Linked DNA regions of Homo sapiens: regions 1, 2, 4, 5, 6 and 7 are each linked to region 3. The links are contacts of gene promoters, found by promoter capture Hi-C in blood cells and fetal thymus (Javierre and others, 2016). All regions are on one chromosome and are shown on one strand. The core of a region is centred on a gene start or on the middle of the fragment in contact, and the rest is flanking DNA. Distances in the headings are between cores, read along the strand shown. Region 1 overlaps SHOC1 (shortage in chiasmata 1). Region 2 holds the start of DNAJC25 (DnaJ heat shock protein family (Hsp40) member C25). Region 3 holds the start of HSDL2 (hydroxysteroid dehydrogenase like 2). Region 4 holds the start of ECPAS (Ecm29 proteasome adaptor and scaffold). Region 5 overlaps DNAJC25-GNG10 (DNAJC25-GNG10 readthrough). Region 6 holds the start of ZNF483 (zinc finger protein 483). Region 7 overlaps SHOC1 (shortage in chiasmata 1).

Region 1 (2,942 bases), core at 173-2,672, 640 kb before region 3:
TATGGAATGCTAGAACCTAGTGATTTTCCCAATTACCTAGAGGAAATCCAGAATCTAACATTTTCACATTCTGAAAATGTTTACATAACTAATATTTACTGTGATGTACTTACATTCTAATTGAAGCACTTTCGTAGGCAAAAATATCTCAATTTTAGTGTCATTAGAAGACAAATTATCATGACATAAATATGTATTCAGATGTTCCAATGTTTCCATCATTTTCAGATTTAGTCCTGCTTGTTTCCACCACTCTGCCTTTTCCAGATTAATCACAAGGCTTTCTTCTTTAACAGAAAATATCTTTTTCAAATCTGTAACTGAATATTGGCTGTGGGGCTCTTGAATTCTTGGCACTTAAAAAAAAATAAAAAACAAATAGTTAGAAACAGTCTACAAAGCAAAAGAAACAAAACACAATAAACAGAACCACACTGGAATTTCTTTATGAAATGCATTTTTATGCATTAGAAAATAAGTGAAACTTGAAGTTATAGCTGGTATTTTTGTCTCAAGATGCTAATATTTGTAAAAGTTTAAGCTATTGTAGCAGTAGAAGTCACATAAAGGATTTATTTCACTCTTTGAAAATATCAAAAAGTTAAAATTATTCTGATATTTAGTAGAAGGAAATCTTATTTTGTTTGACCATTTTCAATTATTAAATTAATGTTTAACATTTTGAAGTAATACAAGCTTTATTAAATTAGAAATTCTAACTCATTATAATAAGCCTAAACAAGAAGAAATATTTGTTCAGATTTTATGATGACTATATCATCTTAGATATTGTGGTACAGCGCTTACTGCCTCATTACTTTCTAGCCTAAACGGGAGAAATCATAACATATGGAGGAACTGAAGTAGCACAACTACCTAATATTATTATCTGCATTATAAACATCAACCTGAAATTAGGATTATAAATTTTGAAACTCTAATTTTGGAATGGTGCTTTTATAATGACAGTAATATTAAGAAGAAATTAAAACTTAAAAATACTAATATTAATAATAGTAATTACAAGTTACTAAAAAACATCTGGCACTATGCTAAGTGCTTTCTTTACATGCATTATTCTTAATTAATCCCTAAATAATTCTATAAAATAGGTATAATTTTTAATAGTTTTATTAAAGTATAACTGACATGCAATAAACTACACATATTTAGAGTGAAAAGTCTCATAAGTTTTGACATATTTATACATTCATGAATCCATTACCACAATCAAGGTAATGAACATATCCATTCCCTCCGAAGTTTTGTATCCCTCCTGCCTCTTTATACCTCCCTTCTAATCTTCCTCATCCCCCAACCCCTGTCCCACTGTTCTGCTTCCTGACACTATAAACTACATTTTCTAGAATTTTATATAAATGGAATTATACCATATGAATTTTTTGTGGTTTCTGTCATTCTGCATAATTATTTTGAGATCATCTGTGTTGTGTATATCAACAGTCCATTCCTTTTTTTCAGGTAGAAATAATTGTAGATTCACATGCAGTTGCAAGAAATAATACAAGACGTCTTGTTCCCCCCTTTTTTTGCTTTAAAAGTATATTATACTATGTAACTGATAATTTCAATATATGATCTGATTTTGATGTCTAATGTTTCTGCTGTATCTCACTGATCATGCCAATATATTTTGTGATTGTTGTCTATTAGCATGTGTTTCTTTCAACTTTGTGGAAGGTCTTTGAAGCACGAGTTGAAGTACATTCTTCCAGAAAAAAAATTTATTTTCCTCTAGAAAGGATTTACTTTTGTCTCTATGTGTTTGGGAGGCACTGTCAACCTGGGACCACTTTAAATTAAATCACCACTATTTTTAAAAGTATATAGGTGGTTTGAATTCAGACTGCAACCAGGCATGATGGCTGCCTTCTGGTTAGCAGTACTTAAGAGAAATTTTTTTTCTTTTCCTCTCTTCCAGCTCCAAGGTAGAAATATGCAAATTTATTCGGAGTTCCCTTCTATATATGGTGGTTTACTTTTGTATGCTCTTATTTTGATGGTAGTTTGTTGAATTCCCAGTTTTATGTAGGGGTCCCCTATCAGACCCTCCACGTAGGATATTTCTTGACTCTACACTACATGTCGACCTCAAAACAGAAGTTCAAAGTCTCCAAGGTTTAATAGAAAGCTTGGAGTGAAAGCCAGCTTTGGTGCTTACTTGCTTCCCAGGATTCCTGTTTTCACTTTGTTTTTGGCCTCCAAATGCAACTCAGTGATTCATTTAAAAATTTTTTAAAACAATACCTTATCCAAAGTTCCATTTCCGTGATGGAATAGTTCAGACACAGACAAGAGTTTAACTTACTCAGATAAATTTTGAATATACATGTGAAATGTATAACCTCAAAATTATTTTGTTAAACTATAAACAAGTTTTGCTAAAATGTTATTTATTTATTTTTGAGATGGAGTCTCACCATGTTGCTCAGGCTGGAGTGCAGTGGTGATCTCAGCTCTTGCAACTTCCACCTCCCTGGTTCGAGCGATTCTCCTGCCTCAGCCTCCAGAGTAGCTGGGACTACAGGCGTGCACCACCATGCTCAGCTAATTTTTGTATTTTTAGTAGAGAGGGGGTTTCAACATGTTGGCCAGACTGGTCTCGAACTCCTGGCCTCAAATGATCCGCCCGGGTCGGCCTCCCAAAGTGCTGGGATTACAAGTGTGAGCCACGGTGCCCGGCCATTTTTTTTGTTTTGTTTGTTTGTTCGTTTGTTTGAGACAGAGACTTGCTCCTTCACGTAGGCTGGAGCGCAATGGCGCCATCTCGGCTCACTGCAACCTCCGCCTCCCAGGTTTTCAAGTGATTCTTGGGCCTCAGCCTACCGACTAGCTGGGACTAAAGGTGCGCTCCGACACTCCCGGCTAATTTCCGGCCGTTGTTAAAATGTTTTTAAACGTCTTTTTTGGAAAGCTTGGGC
Region 2 (3,020 bases), core at 101-2,600, 750 kb before region 3:
TTGTATCTCATTACATATACATGTATCTCTCTCATTACATATATAACTGTATATGTTGCTATATAGTCCCATGCAATATTTAGTGGGCTGAGGTGAAAAATAGACACATATATGTTATATATGTAATGACAGAGACATATATGTGTAATGAGATTATATATATTATATATGTAATGAGGGAGATATATGTAATGAGAGATATATATTTATTCAATGAGAAATACAAAATTATAATGTATATTCATTATGTATTATAAGTATATAATGCTATGTATCAGTATTTGATTTCACTTTATTAAAAGAGTTGATTATATCTGAACGTTTATTTATTTGTTACTGACTGTCATCCTCCATCAGAATATATGCTCTCTGAAGTTGAGCTTCTTGTTTACTTTGCTCACCACTGTATCCCCAGTGCCTAAGTAACAGTGCCCGGCTCAGAGTAGAGACTCAATAAACATTTACCAGATGAATGATAGAAACAGATTTTTTGAGGCAAAGTTTTTCATGTTGCCATATAGTCCCATGCAATATTTTGGACATACTTATACTAAAAAATTATTATCTGAAATTCAAATGTAGGCCGGGCACGGTGGCTCACGCCTGTAATCCTAGCATTTTGGAAGGATCGCTTGATCCTTCCAGCAGGTTGTCCCGGGAACGCGCAGCCCAAGGTGGACGCACAGACCCGCGTACAGAGATTTTTTATTGTCATGACTGGGGGTGGTGGCACTACTGGCATTTAGTGTGGAGAGGCCAGATATGCTGCTAAACATCTTACAATGCAAAGGGCAGCCCCTCAAAGGCAAAGAATTATCTGGTCTAAAATGTCAATAGCGTGGAGGCTGAGAAAAACTGAACTAGATGGCTATGAACTTTCAGGGTCCCTACCTAGTACACAGGCAGCGCCTAGAATTGCTAAGTTCATCTTCCGTTTGGAAAGGCAGCATGGGGTTAGTGAGAGGAAGGCGCCCGGGGCTGGTGGCTGGCTTTAAAGGCCTACGTGCAAATCTTCTTGACGCTGATAACGGGATGCGAGAGAGCCAGGTAGGTTACCTATTGCAGCAGGTCAAGTGATGATGTCGAAAAGGATGCGTGTGCCGGACACTGTGGAAGGTAAAGCGCTCCGCACAGCCCGCCTAAGTGCGCCCGGGACAGAGCCATCCCCCAGGTGCTACCAAACAAATCCTCCAGCTGCTGGTACGGGGAAGGTGTTCAGTGACACACCGGAAGCAGCCTAGTGGCTGAGGCGTCCTTCTCCCTACCAACGGGTTGCGAAGGAAGTAGTTGCTGTAGCCGCGCCCTGTGCGCCTGCGCGGAGGCGTCGGCTGCTGACGTGTAGCTGGGGCCAGACGGGACTAGCCGGGCGCGCGGCTGAGTGCTGCAGAATCGCTGGGGTGGCAGAGCCGCCAGCGAGGCTGGGGATGGGGGCGCCGCTGCTCTCTCCCGGCTGGGGAGCCGGGGCTGCCGGCCGGCGCTGGTGGATGCTGCTGGCGCCCCTGCTGCCGGCGCTGCTGCTGGTGCGGCCCGCGGGGGCCCTGGTGGAGGGGCTCTACTGCGGCACGCGGGACTGCTACGAGGTGCTGGGCGTGAGCCGCTCGGCGGGCAAGGCGGAGATCGCGCGGGCCTACCGCCAGCTGGCCCGGCGCTACCACCCTGACCGCTACCGGCCCCAGCCCGGAGACGAGGGCCCCGGGCGGACGCCGCAGAGCGCCGAGGAGGCTTTCCTGCTGGTGGCAACCGCCTACGAGACACTCAAGGTGAGGCCTGCGGGCGTGGAGGGGCTTCGAAGACTGGCCGCGGGAAGCCCACGGCGCCTTCCGACCCCGGTCCGCGGAGCGTGGGCCTCTGTGACCCCGAAACTGAGCACAGCCACCACCGCGACCTTTAAGATACTCACGTTTCCCACGTGGCCCTGTGAAAGAGCCGAGTCGGCCCCACGGGGCCTTGGGGGGCACAGCTAGCCTCCTTGCCCTCTTCCTTTTTGTGACATTGTTATGCAAAACTTTGGCCATCTTACGATTTCGTGAAAATATTTTAATAACGTGCATTTCACATTCGAAAAGCAGGGTGATCATTATTAGTAGGATCTGGGGTAGCCCACAACAGGGAAAGTCTCGAATATCAAGTGACAACTGTGATCGCATCAGTTTGATATGACAGAAAATTGGTTTCTGGAAATAGTGTTAATGGTGACGCTTAGTTTGGGTTTAAGGAACTAAGAAAACACTGAGAAGAACAATGAACACCAGTCAAAAGGCTGGATGTGAGTCTTTGCTGTGACACCCCTGTATGACCTTGGATAGTGACTTATTATGTTGAAATAGCTGTTTCTTCATATGCAAAATTAAGGCCATGATACCTCCTCTCAGAGTTATTATGGGGATTAAATGATAAGTGTGCGAACCGCCCCCCTTTCCATAGGATCCATAAATAGGTGCTTAATGACTTGGGTACAAAACTCTGAGAATTTCTAGTAGGAAATATTTTGTGAATATGTATTTGTATTTCATTTGACAGGTTTTATTGAGTCTTGTGGGGATGAGAGATTTAGCCCGATGCTGTTTTCTTCTACTACTGCAAAAAATCAAACCATCTAGGACATCACGAAGTATAAATCGTACTTGATGGTGGTATTACTGCTTGAAGGGCCCCATCATACTAATGCGTCAGCGATTGTAGTTGTAAAGTATTTCTTTTCTAGCCTTTTTTTTTTTTTCCCGAGGCAAAATTTTCTATGTTGCCAGGTAGCCTGCTTTTAATGATTGTACTTTGAGTGGATATAATTTTACCTTGGATTGTTCCTCCAGATTGTTTTTCCAGAGCTGAAAATAGTCAAGGAGCTAACAACTTTATTGATGCCTTCCAGAGCAGTTTGGATAATTTGGAGTCATAAAATGAGTGGTGGAGGGGCGGGCCCTGAACTAGGTAAACTAGGTGAATTGAACTAGGTAAAATTTAATTTACCTAGTTCATTAAATTCTCACTAGCGTTAGTGAGATTGTAATTTTTATTGGCAG
Region 3 (3,059 bases), core at 93-2,592:
GGATGATAATAATTTGCAAATTCCTCTGGAGCCTCTAAAGACCGTATCATGAATCATCAATTCAAATGCCTACAGGAGTCGGGCAGGTGATATGCAGGAGGAAATAGAGTCATTTAGGGCCCATAACAAAGGGGAGAGAGGCCGGGCGCGGAGGCTCACGCCTGTAATCCCAGCACTTTGGAAGGCCGAGGCGGGCCAATCATTTGAGGTCAGGAGCTCGAGACCAGCCAGCCCAACATGGCGAAACCCCGTCTCTACTAAAAACACAAAAAAATTAGCCAGGCGTGGTGATGCATGCCTGTAGTCCCAGCTACTCCGGAGGCTGAGGGAGGAGAATCACTTGAACCCGGGAGGCGGAGGTTACAATGAGCCGAGATCCGCGCCACTGCACTTCAGCGTGGGCGACAGCGAGACTCCGTCTCAAAAAACAAAACAAAAACAAAGGAGAGAGTACATAAGCCATCTCCAGGCTAGTTTCTTTAACTAGTCTTCATATAATAATCTCCTCAAGGTCCTGTTCTATCCCTACAAAATACAAAACAGTTCCTCGTGTCTTCCTTCAAATATACTACAGTCTTTAGCTCATCAGAGTAGCTGAGTTAGTCCAAGGCATAATCCCAAAAGCGAAACTGAATGTCAGAATTGATCTCATTTCAACACTCATTCCAGAAGTAGAAACTTCTGCAAGTTCAGCTTTTGACTATGAATTCTTCAGCGCGACTTTTGCAGAGAGCTCTGTTCCAAGAAGCTGGCGCCTTAACACAAGCTATCTACCGATGCACAAGGGAAGGCTGGCTTGGGTCCAGATTCGGCGGGAGAGTGGAAACGCGACGCTGGCCGACTTCAGCCACAAAGGCAATTTCTGCCCAGGGCTAGCGTTCCTAAGAGGGGGCCGAGAGAACGCCAGGCTCGGGCGTAGGGGCAAGAAGACCCAGAGCTAACGCACCTCTCGGAGGGCCCAAGCTCAGGGCTCAGTCACCCTCCCAGCTCGGAGCCGGCGCTGGAACACAGCGGCGCGAGGAGAAACCCCTAGAGACAGGGAAAAGGTGGACGTAGCGGCTGACGCTGCCCAGACGCTAGGCGCCGACAGGAGCCTGATTGTCACCGTACGACCAGTGAGGGGGCGGGGCGGAGCTGTGCCTCAAAGCGCCTGCGCGGAGAGCCTGCAATCAGGGACCAGGCTTGGGAGGCGACGAAGAGGAACGCTGGGCGCAGGAGGCCCACTGCATACGCAGGCGCACTCGGCGATCCCGGCTTTTCCGCGCGCAGTTCCCGCACAGGCATCGGGGGGGGCAGGGGCGGGGCAGGGGCGGGGATAAATGCGGAGGGACGGTCCAGCTTTAGCTCTCTGCTCGCCGCCGCCGCTGTCGCCGCCACCTCCTCTGATCTACGAAAGTCATGTTACCCAACACCGGGTAAGGGGGTAGGGGCGGCGCGGGGAGAGACCCTGTCGGGCGAAGGGCGCGTCTCGGTGGGGCCGCCGCGGATCGCCCGGGCTGGCCGGCCCGGCTGTGGGAGGTCAAGGATACTGCCTGGGCACGCTCTGAGCTCTGGTCCGCGCTGGGCACTGTGCACCGAGAATCTGCGGTAACGTGTGAAAAGGAACACAAACTTTTGTATTACAGGATGGCAGCAGTGTAGAAACCTTTTCCACGGGTAAAGGGCCGAGGGGGAGTCACCACGCCGCCCCCAGTGCCGGCCCTCCCTGAGTTTAGCAGGAGTGCGTGCCTGGCCGAATGCGTGTGAGTTCTAGGTGAAAGGTCGCAGGAGCAGCTCCAGAGTTTAAAGAGTTTTCACTTGTTCCTGACGCTCAATTCTAGAGTAATAATGGAGTGTTTAAAAAATGATTTCCAAATTAGAAACTAAACCGATCTTAAAACATGGGTATCTTTGGGGGATTTTTTTTTCACCTTAAAAAATTGTGTTAAAATACGTACAAAATCTGCCATCTTAACCGTTTTTTAAGTGTACACTTCAGTAGTGTTAAGTAGATTCATATCGTTGTGCAGTCAATCTCCAGAACTTTTTTCATCTGCAAGCTGAAACTCTATCCATGAAACAACTCCTCTTCCCCACCTCCGCTCGTACATTGGCAACCACCATTCTACTTTCTGGTTTATGTAAGGTCTGGGTATCTTGAGTTGAGTGACGTGTTGTCAGATTTTGTAATTTGCCTGAAACATGCAGGCATATAGCCAAAGACTTAAAACAGTTCAAAGAGTATAGGGTAAAAAGTGAGTCTCCCCATCCCTAAAATCTAGTTCCCCAGTTACTTACGTTTCTATTTCGTGCATGTATGAACATAATTTGTATACATCCGGATACACACACACACACACACACACACACACATACCCTTTCTTAAAAATAGCAGCAGACTCTATTCTTGGTCTTGCTACTTTTAGTTGGTATGTCTTGGGACATTCTTTCTTTGTTTTTTTTAAAGACGGGGTCTCCCATGTTGCCCAGACTGGCCTGTAGCCTTGAACTCCCAGGCTGATGTTCCTCCCTTCTTAGCCTCTGGAGTATTTAGGATTACAGGCATGCACCGCTGTGCCCAGGGACATACATTTTTAGTACATGGCAGATCTTCCGCCTCCTTTTTTTTTCTTTTGAGATGGAGTCTCGCTCTGTCTTCCAGTCTGGAGTGCAGTGGCATGATCTCGGCTCACTGCAGCCTCCGCCTCCCGCAATTCTCCTGCCTCAGCCTCCCGAGTAGCTGGGACTTCAGGCGCGTGCCACCACGCCCTGTTGATTTTTTTGTATTTTTAGTACAGACGGGGTTTCACCATGTTAGCCAGGATGGTCTCAATCTCATGACCTCGTGATCCGTCTGCCTCGGCCTCCCAAAGTGCTGGGATTACAGGCGTAAGCCACTGCGCCTGGCCCCTCCTCCTTTTTAATGGTTGCATAATATTCTGTAACAGCTTGAGTATCCATTATCCAAAATGCTTGGTTCCAGACGTGTTCGGATTTCAGATTTTCAGATTTGGTTTGCTCAACCTGTATATGAATATACCTTTGTTTATTTAACCTGTTCCCTATTGTTGGATACTAGA
Region 4 (2,700 bases), core at 48-2,547, 900 kb before region 3:
GCTCCATTTCTATAACTCAACCAGCCGTCGGGGACCCGGGGCCAGGCGGGGTCAGACGGGACGGGCGGACACTGCCCGTCACCCCGGGGCTCCGGCCCTCCCGCCAGCCGAGGCTCAGTGGGCAGGGGGCTGGGCTCCCCCGACCCCGGGCCAGGGCGGATCGCGGGCAGAGGTGGCTCCGCCCGGGGCTCCGGTTTCAATTTCGCAACGTGACGGTGCAAACCTGAGGCCTACAAACGCCAGCGGCGACGGTCCGCGCCCCGCCCGTCCGCCAGGCCCGGGCTCCCCAGCTCCCCGTACGCCGCGGCCGCCGCCCGCCCACCGGGCCTGGCGCCCCAGCCCTCATGCGGCCGCCGGCCCCCGGCACCGCGCGGCGCCCGTTCCGGCTCGCGGCCGCAGGTTCGGCCGCGGCACTTACTCAGCTCATCCTGGGAGGCGGAGGCGGCGGCCGCAGCCATGTTGCGCCGGGGAGGGAACGAGGGAGGGGCTGGGGGGGCAGGGCGCGGCCGGGGGGCTCGCGGCTCGCGGTGCGGCAGGGGCCGCGAGCCGCCTCCGTTCACTCGGCGCGGACCGCGCTGTGCCCCGAGGCCCGCCCGCCGCCGCCGCCTGCGTCCTCCGCGTCGCGAGCGTCGCCCTTCGCTGCCCCCGCGAGCTCGCGACTCGGGCGCTCCCGCAGCCTCGCGCCTCTGCGGAGCCGCTGCCGCTGCCGCCGCCGCCGTCTGTGCGGCCGAATCCCCGTGCGCCAGGCCCGCGCGGCGGCTCTGCGACTCCGCGCCGCGCTCGCCCAACTCACGCCGGTTTTATATTTAGAAAGAGCTGAGCCATCCTCCCAGCGGCCCCCCCGCCGGGCCCCTCGCGCGCCCGCCCGCCCTCGCTCGCTCGCGGCTCGTCCTGCCCACCTGTCGCCGCCCGCCCCGCGTGCGCTCCCCGCGCGGACTCGACACGCGGCGGCCTGTGCGGGCGGCCCGGCCTAACCGCGCCGCCGCGCGCGCAGGGCCAGTCCCCCGCGGCCCGGGGGCGGGCCTCTGACCTGAGTCGGAGCCGGTCTCCATGCCGCGGACGCTGCGCTCGGCGCCGCGAGGTGAGGGCTGTAGAGCGAGGCGTTCGGCGGGCCGGGCCCCGGGGAGCCGCGCGCCGCAGTCCGTGAGGGGCTGGGCCGAGCGGGCCCGGGCTGCCCTAGCGGCCGGGGGAAATCCTCGAGGCGGGGCCGGAGCGCCCTTTTCCGAGGTCTGCGGCTGTCACGTTGGCTGGGCCCGACCTGGGGAAACACGCCTGTCCAAAGGAAGAGACGTGGACTCAGAAAAGTAGAGCCGGGCTCGGAGTCGGCGGGAGGAAGCCCCGCCCTGCGCCTCCCGCCGAACTTCTCGGCCCCGGCGCTGACTCAGTCCCGGACGAGCCCCTGCGCCGCAGCGGCCCCCGACAGCCCAGTTCTGGTGTGGAGGTGGCTGGTGCTCCCAAAACGGCTAGCGGGAGCAGGGGGTCCACTCAGCCCTGCAAAAGTTAGATAAGGCAAGATTCCTAAAGTTCACATGGAAGTATCTATGCCTATGTGAGCTCTGAGATTTTGTTCAGATACCCTATGTTCTTTTCGGTAACTAGAGTGATTTATTTTCGATATGCTGATTTTAACTTTCTGCCTTCGCTTTGTCCGTGAGGTCATGTACACTTGCAAAATGAAATTCAAATTCAGGGGTTGCATAATTGCTGTACTTTAAGTGATGGTACTGTCATAACAAATTAGATACAAGATCAGATACTTTTTTTATATAAGAAGAAATCAAGTCTTAAATAGATTGAAATTGCATTTATTCCTTAAAGCAGAAATCTATAAAGCCCTAAGTAATGTCTTAAAAATGGAATATATGTCATTCCTGTTGTAACATAGGCCAAGTACAAGGTACAACACTGAAGACATTTTTATTTCCTTTATTGTTTTTGTTATAGAAATTATACATGATCTTGGGCCGGGCGCGGTGGCTCACGCCTGTAATCCCAGCTCTTTCGGAGGCTTAGGCGGGTGGATCACGAGGTCAGGAGTTCGAGACCAGCCTGGCCAACATGGTGAAACCCTGTCTCTAATTAAAAAATACAAAAATTAGCTGGGCGTGGAGGCGCGCGCCTGTAATCCCAACTACTCGGGAGGCTGAGGTAGGAGAATCGCTTGAACCCGGGAGGCGGAGCTTGCAGTGAGCCGAGATCGCACCACTGCACTCCAGCCTGGGGGACAGAGCGAGACTCCGTCTCAAAAAGAAAAAAAAAAGAAAAATTATACATAATTTTTGTAAAAAAAAAATGCAAATGATTTGGAGTATCATAAAATTAAAAGTGAAAGTCCTTCCTCCTAGCCCCACCATCCCACTCTGCAGAGAAATTATGACTAACAGTTACAGTTAAGTGTGCAGAAGACCTTTTCTCTGGACATATATATACAGCCCCATGTATGGCTTTGATGGGGACAGGTTTCTACAATAAAGTTCTGGATCAATTATTCCTTCACACACATTGTTCCATGTTAATTCAAAACACTGCACTACCATCACCCTTTTTTGTTTGTAACTTCATACTACACTAAGTTAACCAACCCCTTTTTTCATGTATGCTCCTCTTTTATTTGATGTTGCCTCCAAAATAAATACACAATGAACTACTTACAAACAATAGAGAGGTGTATACAGGTCTTCTCCCAACTGCATACCCACC
Region 5 (3,078 bases), core at 318-2,817, 710 kb before region 3:
TTCTTGAGCCTAGAGTTCAGTTAGTCTCATTTCTCCAGGAGTCCTGGAGACAGTGTCCTTCCACCTACCATGTGTGGAGTTTACCTGCCACCCCAATGCAAAGATAGTAAGCCTGAGCATAATTGATTCTCGATTTCTTTTGAATTAATAACTGGTATATATAACCATTAATTCCAATTATAATTCACATGAAAATGTCAGAGCTTCTATTGAGAGCAAAAGCAAACTTTAGCATTAGCCTGGTAATATTATATTATGGTTTTATATTCATATAATATGGAGTAAACTGTCATTACATTAATGCAACCAAAATTCCTGGAGCTGTCCAGAAACTTGGTAGCAATTGTAACATAAACAGTTAATTTTCCAGTTATTTGGAGGCTTGGAAAATTAACACAAACTAGTAGTAATACCTGAACAGCAATTGGAACCATTTTTGTACAATATGGGTGAATTGTATTCAAAATGCCTTTTAATGCAAAAAAAAAAAGTACAATGAGGAAAACCTCCAAGTAGAAATATGCATCAAATGGAAGATAAGAAAAGGGATAATGATATTGTATCAGTTAGTTTTTGCTGCCTGACAAACCACCCCAAAATTTAGTGGCTTAAAAGATTTATACTCACAGTTCTTAGATGGACAATTTGAGCTAGGTTCAGGTGTACAGTTCTGCTGATCTTCTGGGCTCTCCCATGCATCTGCAATCAGATAGAGTGTTAACTGGTGTTGGCTGGTGTCTGGGTGATTGAGAATGGCCTCACTCACAGGTCTGCAGGTTGATAGGCAGGTGCTGGTTGTAGCTTACCAGTTCTCCTCTACAAGACCTCCAGGAGGCTATCTTGGGCTCCTTCAGATGGTTGTCTTACAGTTCCACCTGCACCAAGAGAGATAGGTGCAGAGACTCTTGAGGACTAGCTTGGAACTTGCCCTTTATTTCTACCACATTCTACTGGTCAAAGTCAGCCCAGATTCTTTTCTTTTTTTGTTTTTTTGAGACGGAGTTTTGCTCTTGTCACCCAGCTTGGAGTGCAATGGTGCGATCTCGGCTCACTGAAACCTCCGCCTCCTGGGTTCAAGCGATTCTCCTGCCTCAACCTCCTGAGTAGCTGGGATTACAGGTGCACGCCACCACACCCGGTTAATTTTTTTTTTTTTTTTTTTTTTAGTAGAGACAGGGTTTCACCATGTTGGTCAGGCTGGTCTCGAACTCCTGACCTCGTGATCTGCCCCCGCTTGGGCTCCCAAAGTGCTGGGATTACAGGTGTGAGCCACTGCGCCCAGCCACAGTCAGCCCAGATTCAAGGGGTGCGTCAATAGACTCTACCTCTTCGTGGAAGGAGCTGCAAACTATTGTGATCACGTTTGCAGTCTACCACAAATGTATTGCTATATGTTAGCGCTATTCTAATAGCTTTATATGTGTGAACTCACTTAATTGTTACAGCAACCCAGAGAGGTGAGTTACTATTTCTAATTATTTCTCAGATGAGGAAGCAGCTACTGAGACGTTGAGTAACTTGCCCAAGGTTATATAGGTAGTGGCAGAGCTGAATTTGAGTCCACGCAGTCTGGTTCCAGAGGCTATACTCCCAAATAATAAGCTATACCGCCTCAAAAGCAAGGCGGAAGAACTTTATCACTTGTTTGGAGCAGACTGAATAAGGCTTCAGACTTGTAAACATTAAGACAATTTGCTCATTTGGCAAACTTGGATATATTGATGCATGTTTTATATAAGTAAAAATTTGTAAAGGGAATGCTAGAATGAGCTATTTCTTTACCCGTTCAGTCTCAAAACTAGATTTCTAAATGGATCAAAGATACAGCTTTTTCTTGTCTTCGTTGAATAAGCAACTAAACCAAAAAATATCTAAATTGACGTTCATGGAAATTGTAACCTTTTCTCTTTGTAGTTCAAGTATTAGAACTTTCAGCAGAAAGAGACTTTTGGAGGTCACAAAAAGTTGATATTTACCAAGTTGGATGATCGTTTTCAGAATATCCTTGACTGCCGGGTGGCTTGGCTGTGAGCAGGGTGCCATGTTGCTGTCCCTTTGTTTCAGGTCTCTCAGGCAGCTGCAGAGCTTCAACAGTACTGTATGCAGAATGCCTGCAAGGATGCCCTGCTGGTGGGTGTTCCAGCTGGAAGTAACCCCTTCCGGGAGCCTAGATCCTGTGCTTTACTCTGAAGACTCGTGAGTAATGATACACCATGATGTCTTGGGCCCATAGCATTATCACAGGGCTTCCCAAAGGACTTGAGCAACTGAGTTTTGAATGTCTCCTATTCTTGGGGAAATTAAAACAAGAGCCAGCAAAATGCACAACTTTCCCTGAAGTGTGATTCTAGTGTATATTTACCTTGCCTGTAGAATACATCTAATCAGGACAGTCTGAAGTCTCTCTGGCACTAAGTCATGAGATGCCAACATCCTTCTGTACTTGAGCTCTTTGAGTTGGCTGGTAGTAATTTCTTCCTTTCTTTCTTTCTTTTTTTTGAGACAGTCTCGCTCTGTCACCCAGGCTGGAGTACAGTGGCATGATCTTGGCTCACTGCAACCTCCATCTCCCAGGTTCAAGCAATTCTCTTGTCTCAGCCTCCCGAGTAGCTGGGACTACAGGTGCCTGCCACCACGCCCGGCTAATGTTTGTATTTTTAATAGAGATGGGGTTTCACCATATTGGTCAGGCTGGTCTCGAACTCCTGACCTCAGGTGATCCACCCGCCTCGGCCTCCTAAAGTGCTGGGATTACAGGTGTGAGCCACCACACCTGGCCAGTAATTTCTTGACCTTAAGCCCACCCTCTCTGTCCTTATAGCATCCAAGGGTTGGGATTTGCTACTTAGTGCTATCAACTGACTTGCTACTCTTGGGAATAAGGACTCCCCAGAGTGGGAGATGTGTGCCTACCACCCGCTGTGATTTCTTTCCCAATGGTTTTCAGAATATATCTCTGTTTTAATGGAGGAAGAAATATAGCTATTGGGAAAAAGTGTGAGTGGGGTTAAAAGAGCTTTAAAAATTGATAAATGAAAACACCTCTCTGGTGGCATATTAGAAACTTCTTGGGTTCGA
Region 6 (2,821 bases), core at 207-2,706, 850 kb before region 3:
TCTCCTGCCTCAGCCTCCCGAGTAGCTGGGATTATAGGCATGTGCCACCACACCTGGCTAATTTTTTGTATTTTTAGTAGAGACAGGGTTTCTCCGCGTGGGTCAGGCTGGTCTCAAACTCCCGACCTCAGGTGATCCACCCGCCTCAGCCTCCCAAAGTGCTGGGATTACAAGCATGAGCCACCGCGCCCGGCCATTCTCAGCCCTGTCTCTTCAGCTTGACTTGCTGCCTGTGATAAGCCCACTCCTTTTGAGAGGAGTGGTTCATTTAGTTGAGCTTGCTCTGCCCTTTTGAAGTCTCAGGGCCTTGAATCACCTTGCTCCTTCAGTCTAGAATGAATCTAGTCTTTCTCTCCTAACTCCACCCCTTCAGGGATCATCCAGTTATTAGAACCCTCCAAACAATTTTTCTGGAGTTCTTTGGCCCTTTTTGCAATGCCCCCAATAATCCATGCAAATACTCATTCATAAGCTCAACAAATATCTATTGAGTGCCTGCCATGGGCCAAGTCCTGTTCCAGGACCTAAACACACAACCTAGAACAAATGAAATAAAAATACTTACTCTTCTGAAATTAGTATTCTACTGGAGAAGGCGGACAAGTAGTAAAAAAAAAAATTAACAAACCTATAGGGCATGTTAGAAGAGGAAACAAGAGTAAGGTGGGATTCCTATTTAAGTGGAATGGTGGGAGAGCTTCATTGAGAAGACCTGAAGGGATGAGAGAGCGGGCCGTATGGCCACTTAGGGAAGGAGCAGGTCAGCCGGAAGTACCTGGCAGGTTACAAGAAGAGGAAGGGGTCTATCAAGATTGGAGCAGGAAAGTGGGGAAGAGGTGCGGGAGGTTACAGGGGCTAGATTCCATCAGGCCTTGTAGGCCACTATAAAGACTTGGGTTTTAACTCTGAGTGAAATGGGAAACCATTGCAGGGTTTTAAGCAAAGGAGGGTCATAATTTGACGTTTTTAAAACGTCCGTCTGGCTGTGGAGAATAGCCAAGAGAAGTAAGGTATAATCAAGAAGCTATTGCAATAATCCAGGTGAGCCATGAGGGTGGACTGGACCATGGGGGCAGGTGTGGAAGTCATAAGATTAATATGTGTTTAACTCAAGTTGTGGCATTAATTATGGCTTGCATTAAATGCATCGGTAATATGCTTCTGCGGTGGATTTTTCCACCTTAGATTTCAGGGAATGGAAGTGATGGGAGCGGGTAGGGAAGGTCTGAGGTTACTAAACAGATGGAGCCTCCTGGATCTGCAAACCTCATACGATTCTAGGCCTCTGAGCCTCTGGCGCAGCAATAATTCTGCAGCCGAGCCCACTAGCCGCTTCCCAGTGACCATGCGCAACAGGCAGGTGGGAGCCTATGGAAAGCGCGGACTTTCGGAAAGCTGCACGAGCGCGTTCGGGGAGTCCGGTTCAGCGCCTCTGCGCAGGCGCAGTGGTTCCCGCAGGCTTGCGCGCGCACTCGCTGCGGGACAAGCTTCTGGAAGCTCTTTGCGGTGGCGTTGGTGCTGTTTGCGGATGCTGATGCAGGTACTGGTCGTCCCGGGCCCCGAGTTTCGGGGCCGTGGCCGGGTCGCCGGCTCCGAGGGCGCACTTGGGGCGGGATGGGGGCCGGGAGCAGCCTACCAACGGGCTGTGCGCTGCGCTGCTGCTGCTTCTGTGGGAGGTGCGCACTCCGCTGCGGGATGGGGCTGTTGGCTTCCCTCCATCCCTCCCTGCGCCACTTGGGCACTGTTGACATTTTGGGCGGGATAATGCCTTGTTTTGTTTGTGGTGTGGCGGTGAGGGGGAGGCTCTCCCGTTGTGGCAGGATGTTTAACAGCGTCACTGGTTCTGCCCGTTAGATAACAGTACCACCTCTCGTCCTAGTCGAGCTAACCAAAAATGTGTCCAGACATTGCCAGAGGACCGCTGGGGGGTGAAATCTCTCCTTTTTTCTTCCCTCTGGTTGAGATCCTCTGGCTGCGTCACATTTTCACCGGGCCTCCTATGTAAACTCCCTGTAGACGGAGCCGAGTGTCTTAGTCATCGCGGAGCCCCAGGTGCTCAGCACGGCGCCAGGTACGTGGTGGGCGCCTAATATTTGGCAGAGGAATAAATGACGTCATGCTGCTGTGTGCCGGGCGCTGTACTCGGAAGTGGGTTGTTATTGGTATGGTAGTTGCAATGCGAGGCTGTCACATCCTTCACTTGTCGCATTGTAGTCCCGCTCCGGCTGTATTGTCATTTCCTGGACCCTCTGTGAGCGTGAGGACCCTTTCAGGCCTGTCCACGCCTGGCCCCGCAGCTCATGGCCCCTGGTCTCGTTCCAGCTCATTGTAGTTGCTCCGTCACTTATAGAATGAATGAATGAATGCAACACAGGGCAGTCTGTGTGCAAAGGAGTGCTTTGGGATCAAGCAGAGCATCACACCAGAAGTGACAGTTGAAAGGAGTCAGGCTTTAAAGACGAATAAAAGTTTGGTAGGAGAAAGAAAGCAACATTCCGAGGAGAGGGAATAGCCTTGGTGCAAAGGCTAGGAGAGTATGTAGAGAGAGAGGAGATACTAATTTATGGCTGTAGTGTCAATCGGGTAGCTAGAGCTCAAGAGGTGAGGTCATCAGACAGTGTCTCTAGATCACAATGCCATGGTCCCTGCATGTGAACTTTATCGAGAGACAGTTCGGTGGCTGGTGAGGGACTGTAAGCCGGGGAGTGATAAGATCATATTTTGCATGTTAGAAGGAATTTTTTGGCCACAGTGTGAGACTGGAGTGAAGAACCCTGTACTTAGGCAGTTTCAGAAGGATAGAATGGAGAGGTTCTTAGGA
Region 7 (2,700 bases), core at 98-2,597, 620 kb before region 3:
CACCTGAGGTCAGGAGTTCAAGACCAGCCTGATCAACATGGAGAAACCCCATCTCTACTAAAAATACAAAATTAGCCAGGTGTGGTGGTGCATGCCTGTAATCCCAGCTACTCGGGAGGCTGAGGTGGGAGAATCGCTTGAACCTGGGAGGCGGAGGTTGTGGTGAGCTGAGATCTTGCCATTGCACTCCAGCCTGGGCAACAAGAGCGAAATTTTGTCTCGACAACAACAACAACAACAACAACAAGAAAATGACAATGAGAAAATAATCTCATCAAAAATAATCCTGAGATTTCAACATGTAACTTGCAGAACATTTTTGCAAAATCTGGAGGTTCAGAAAAATTTTAATAAACAAGAACCTATGTAACAAACATTCTTAAGTGGTTTTTACAAGTAATACATTTTACAATTAATTCTCACCTCTTTCAAAAAGCTTTTCCTTTTCATCTACATAGTTTATTATTTCTGGCACTGGGTTTAATAACTCCTTCAGTTCTGAGAGTGATGGAATATCAATTTCTGGTTTGAGGCTTGGAGGTATTAAGAATTCATACTCAATAAGAAAACTTGACGGCTGAAAAAACATAGTTTAAAAAAGTTTTTAGAGAGGCTTTCCAAATAAATATTTTCGAAATCATAAGTGGACAAAATTTGCTTAAATGATGTGCCAAATTTTAAACTAAATCCACATTCAAAATTGTTAAAGCTATATATACTTTAAAAAAACAGAAATGTAGCAGCTAAAAATACGTTCTATTATAAGCAATGTTCTCTCTGAGTATTGTATTTTATGGTCACTCATTACATTAGTGGTGTACAATATCCCTAGATGCAGAAATAGCTTCTTTTTGGCTAATAGCAAATTGTAAACATTTTAAATTAAAAACAGTCACTGCAGTAGATGAGAGATAATAAATGGTGAGAAGTGAAATGAGATCATGGAATGGAATAGATCTTTACTGTGATCCATGGAGTATGTTTCTCTTTCATTCCAACAGAACTTGACTCCTCAACAAGAGAGACTAAGTCCACAACTCTCAGGGTTAACCTGGGAAGCAAGAGGTACTGGAGGAATGGGGCCTATTGGTGAATTAACCTTTTTACCATCATGTTAAAATTTTTATTGTAAGGAAACCCCTTAAGTGCTTTAAGTCCATTAAAATCTCCAAATATAAAACATTTTAAGTTGTCCTAAAAAAATGTTTTTTGTGTTTTGTTTTTGAGATGGAGTCTCGCTCTGTCACCCAGGCTGGAGTGCAGTGGTGCGATCTCACTGCAAGCTCCGCCTCCTGGGTTCACGCCATTCTCCTGCCTCAGCCTCCCGAGTAGCTGGGACTACAGGCGCCCACCACTATGCCTGGCTAATTTTTTGTATTTTTAGTAGAGACAGAGTTTCACCATGTTAGCCAGGATGGTCTCGATCTCCTGACCTCGTGATCTGCCCACCTCGGCCTCCCAAAGTGCTGGGATCACAGGCGTGAGCCACCGCGCCCGGCCAAAAAATGTTTTTTTAAAGTAGCTTTGTGAACGCATCTAATCAATATGGGCCTAGATTTCTGAGCTTGTCCAGCTGCAAAAAGTTATTGCAATCGCAATAGCTAGAATTCTTTACATACTGATATTATGACCATTTTGTGTGCTATTGAAACTAAATGCATCTTTGAGAAGTTTGGCCTTTAATATGCAAAAGATGCTATCATCCTTGTTAAACACTGGCAGAAAACTAAAATTCAGTCTTGGACCCTCTATATTCTTACTCTTGCAATATTCTCATTAGCTCAAGTACTATTTTTTGTGTATAACTCACAAATCAATATTTCTAGTTCAGGTGTCAATTTTTAAACTAGACATGACTACTTAATTTCCTATACCAGGTATATTGATTACAATTATTGGAAGAGATTTTAAAGTTCCCTATGACTGGCCTGCACACCAGACCAATTTATCAGAATATATCTCAGGCTTCAACATTTTTTTTTAACTATTCAGGTAATTCCAACATACAGCCAAGGCTGAGAACCACTATTTAGAAGTAAATTTGACTTCTTAATTGATACATGTTCATTCCATTATAAAATCTTTTTAATTTGACAATTGTAGACAATGTATATTACACAAATTTTACAAAAATGTGCCTCACTACTTTTACTAAAATATTATTGAAAGCCAGTATTACAACCTCATTTAAACATATTGTATCTTCTAGTTTCTCTTGACAAAAGTTCACTTTATCCATACAAAAATCTTCTTTCACAAAAGCTTCCAAAGTTTCTTGAAGAGAGAAACATTCCCTTAAAAAAAAATACATTAATTAGTGTTTACTAAAAGCAAGTTACATACTAAATGTAGCCAACCAAAACACATAATCATTAAAATTAAAGTTGAGGTAAAACGATGATAAAAGTTATTGGCCGGGTGCAGTGGCTCACGCCTGTAATCCCAGCACTTTGGGAGGCCGAGGCGGGTGGATCACCTGAGGTCAGGAGTTCAAGACCAGCCTGGCCAACATGGTGAAACCATGTCTCTACTAAAAATACAAAAATTAGCTGGGCACAGTGGCGCACGCCTGTAGTCTCAGCAAGGCTGAGGCAGGAGAATCGCATGTGCCCAGGAGGCGGAGGTTGCAGTGAGCCGAGATTGCGCCATTGTACTCCAGCCTGGGCGACAGAGCAAGACTCATCTCAAAACAAAACAAAA

The links. The method cuts DNA at HindIII sites, captures the fragments that hold promoters and counts their contacts. A CHiCAGO score of 5 or more calls a contact.
Region 1: a contact is called between a fragment that was not itself captured here and the fragment with the promoter of HSDL2 in region 3, in 7 of 17 cell types (endothelial precursors, total B cells, M1 macrophages and 4 more). The highest score is 7.6, in endothelial precursors.
Region 2: the fragment with the promoter of DNAJC25 here is called in contact with the fragment with the promoter of HSDL2 in region 3 in 1 of 17 cell types (fetal thymus); the score reaches 8.9 in fetal thymus.
Region 4: a contact is called between the fragment with the promoter of ECPAS here and the fragment with the promoter of HSDL2 in region 3, in 3 of 17 cell types (total CD8 T cells, non-activated CD4 T cells and activated CD4 T cells). The highest score is 6.4, in total CD8 T cells.
Region 5: a fragment that was not itself captured here is called in contact with the fragment with the promoter of HSDL2 in region 3 in 3 of 17 cell types (activated CD4 T cells, non-activated CD4 T cells and fetal thymus); the score reaches 6.0 in activated CD4 T cells.
Region 6: the fragment with the promoter of ZNF483 here is called in contact with the fragment with the promoter of HSDL2 in region 3 in 4 of 17 cell types (naive CD4 T cells, total CD8 T cells, total CD4 T cells and 1 more); the score reaches 6.8 in naive CD4 T cells.
Region 7: a fragment that was not itself captured here is called in contact with the fragment with the promoter of HSDL2 in region 3 in 15 of 17 cell types (megakaryocytes, total B cells, fetal thymus and 12 more); the score reaches 12.8 in megakaryocytes.

Annotation. Positions count from the first base shown.
Region 1 is chr9:111,738,167-111,741,108 of GRCh38, forward strand. SHOC1 (shortage in chiasmata 1) reads right to left here. Exons shown (of 28, transcript NM_001378211.1): 12 at 114-356. Among named protein-coding and RNA genes, the nearest start is that of SHOC1, 55 kb to the right of the region's middle. The HindIII fragment of the contact is 1,456 bases long and covers 695-2,150 here.
Region 2 is chr9:111,629,984-111,633,003 of GRCh38, forward strand. It overlaps DNAJC25 (DnaJ heat shock protein family (Hsp40) member C25), which reads left to right and starts at 1,351. Exons shown (of 4, transcript NM_001015882.3): 1 at 1,351-1,760. The coding sequence starts at 1,425. It overlaps DNAJC25-GNG10 (DNAJC25-GNG10 readthrough), which reads left to right and starts at 1,351. Exons shown (of 3, transcript NM_004125.4): 1 at 1,351-1,760. The coding sequence starts at 1,425. LOC107987116 (a long non-coding RNA gene) reads right to left here and starts at 1,220. Exons shown (of 2, transcript XR_001746897.2): 1 at 1,057-1,220. RefSeq lists enhancers at 1,215-1,304, 2,035-2,084 and a silencer at 1,395-1,684. The HindIII fragment of the contact is 9,325 bases long and covers 1-3,020 here.
Region 3 is chr9:112,378,766-112,381,824 of GRCh38, forward strand. It overlaps HSDL2 (hydroxysteroid dehydrogenase like 2), which reads left to right and starts at 1,343. Exons shown (of 11, transcript NM_032303.5): 1 at 1,343-1,415. The coding sequence starts at 1,399. It also overlaps a transcript of PTBP3 not described here. RefSeq lists enhancers at 527-576, 677-926, 926-1,525, 957-1,076 and a silencer at 1,297-1,546. The HindIII fragment of the contact is 10,070 bases long and covers 1-3,059 here.
Region 4 is chr9:111,483,086-111,485,785 of GRCh38, forward strand. ECPAS (Ecm29 proteasome adaptor and scaffold) reads right to left here and starts at 1,298. Exons shown (of 50, transcript NM_001364929.1): 1 at 1,031-1,298. RefSeq lists silencers at 1-347, 618-737, 858-1,397. The HindIII fragment of the contact is 4,796 bases long and covers 1-2,700 here.
Region 5 is chr9:111,664,751-111,667,828 of GRCh38, forward strand. DNAJC25-GNG10 (DNAJC25-GNG10 readthrough) reads left to right here. Exons shown (of 3, transcript NM_004125.4): 2 at 2,065-2,196. The coding sequence ends at 2,190. GNG10 (G protein subunit gamma 10) reads left to right here. Exons shown (of 3, transcript NM_001017998.4): 2 at 2,065-2,196. The coding sequence ends at 2,190. Among named protein-coding and RNA genes, the nearest start is that of GNG10, 4.7 kb to the left of the region's middle. The HindIII fragment of the contact is 4,198 bases long and covers 1-3,078 here.
Region 6 is chr9:111,523,723-111,526,543 of GRCh38, forward strand. ZNF483 (zinc finger protein 483) reads left to right here and starts at 1,457. Exons shown (of 6, transcript NM_133464.5): 1 at 1,457-1,540. RefSeq lists a silencer at 1,360-1,709 and enhancers at 1,810-2,009, 2,121-2,620. The HindIII fragment of the contact is 1,786 bases long and covers 1-1,485 here.
Region 7 is chr9:111,755,902-111,758,601 of GRCh38, forward strand. It overlaps SHOC1 (shortage in chiasmata 1), which reads right to left. Exons shown (of 28, transcript NM_001378211.1): 7 at 2,183-2,294; 8 at 424-577. Among named protein-coding and RNA genes, the nearest start is that of SHOC1, 38 kb to the right of the region's middle. The HindIII fragment of the contact is 1,826 bases long and covers 435-2,260 here.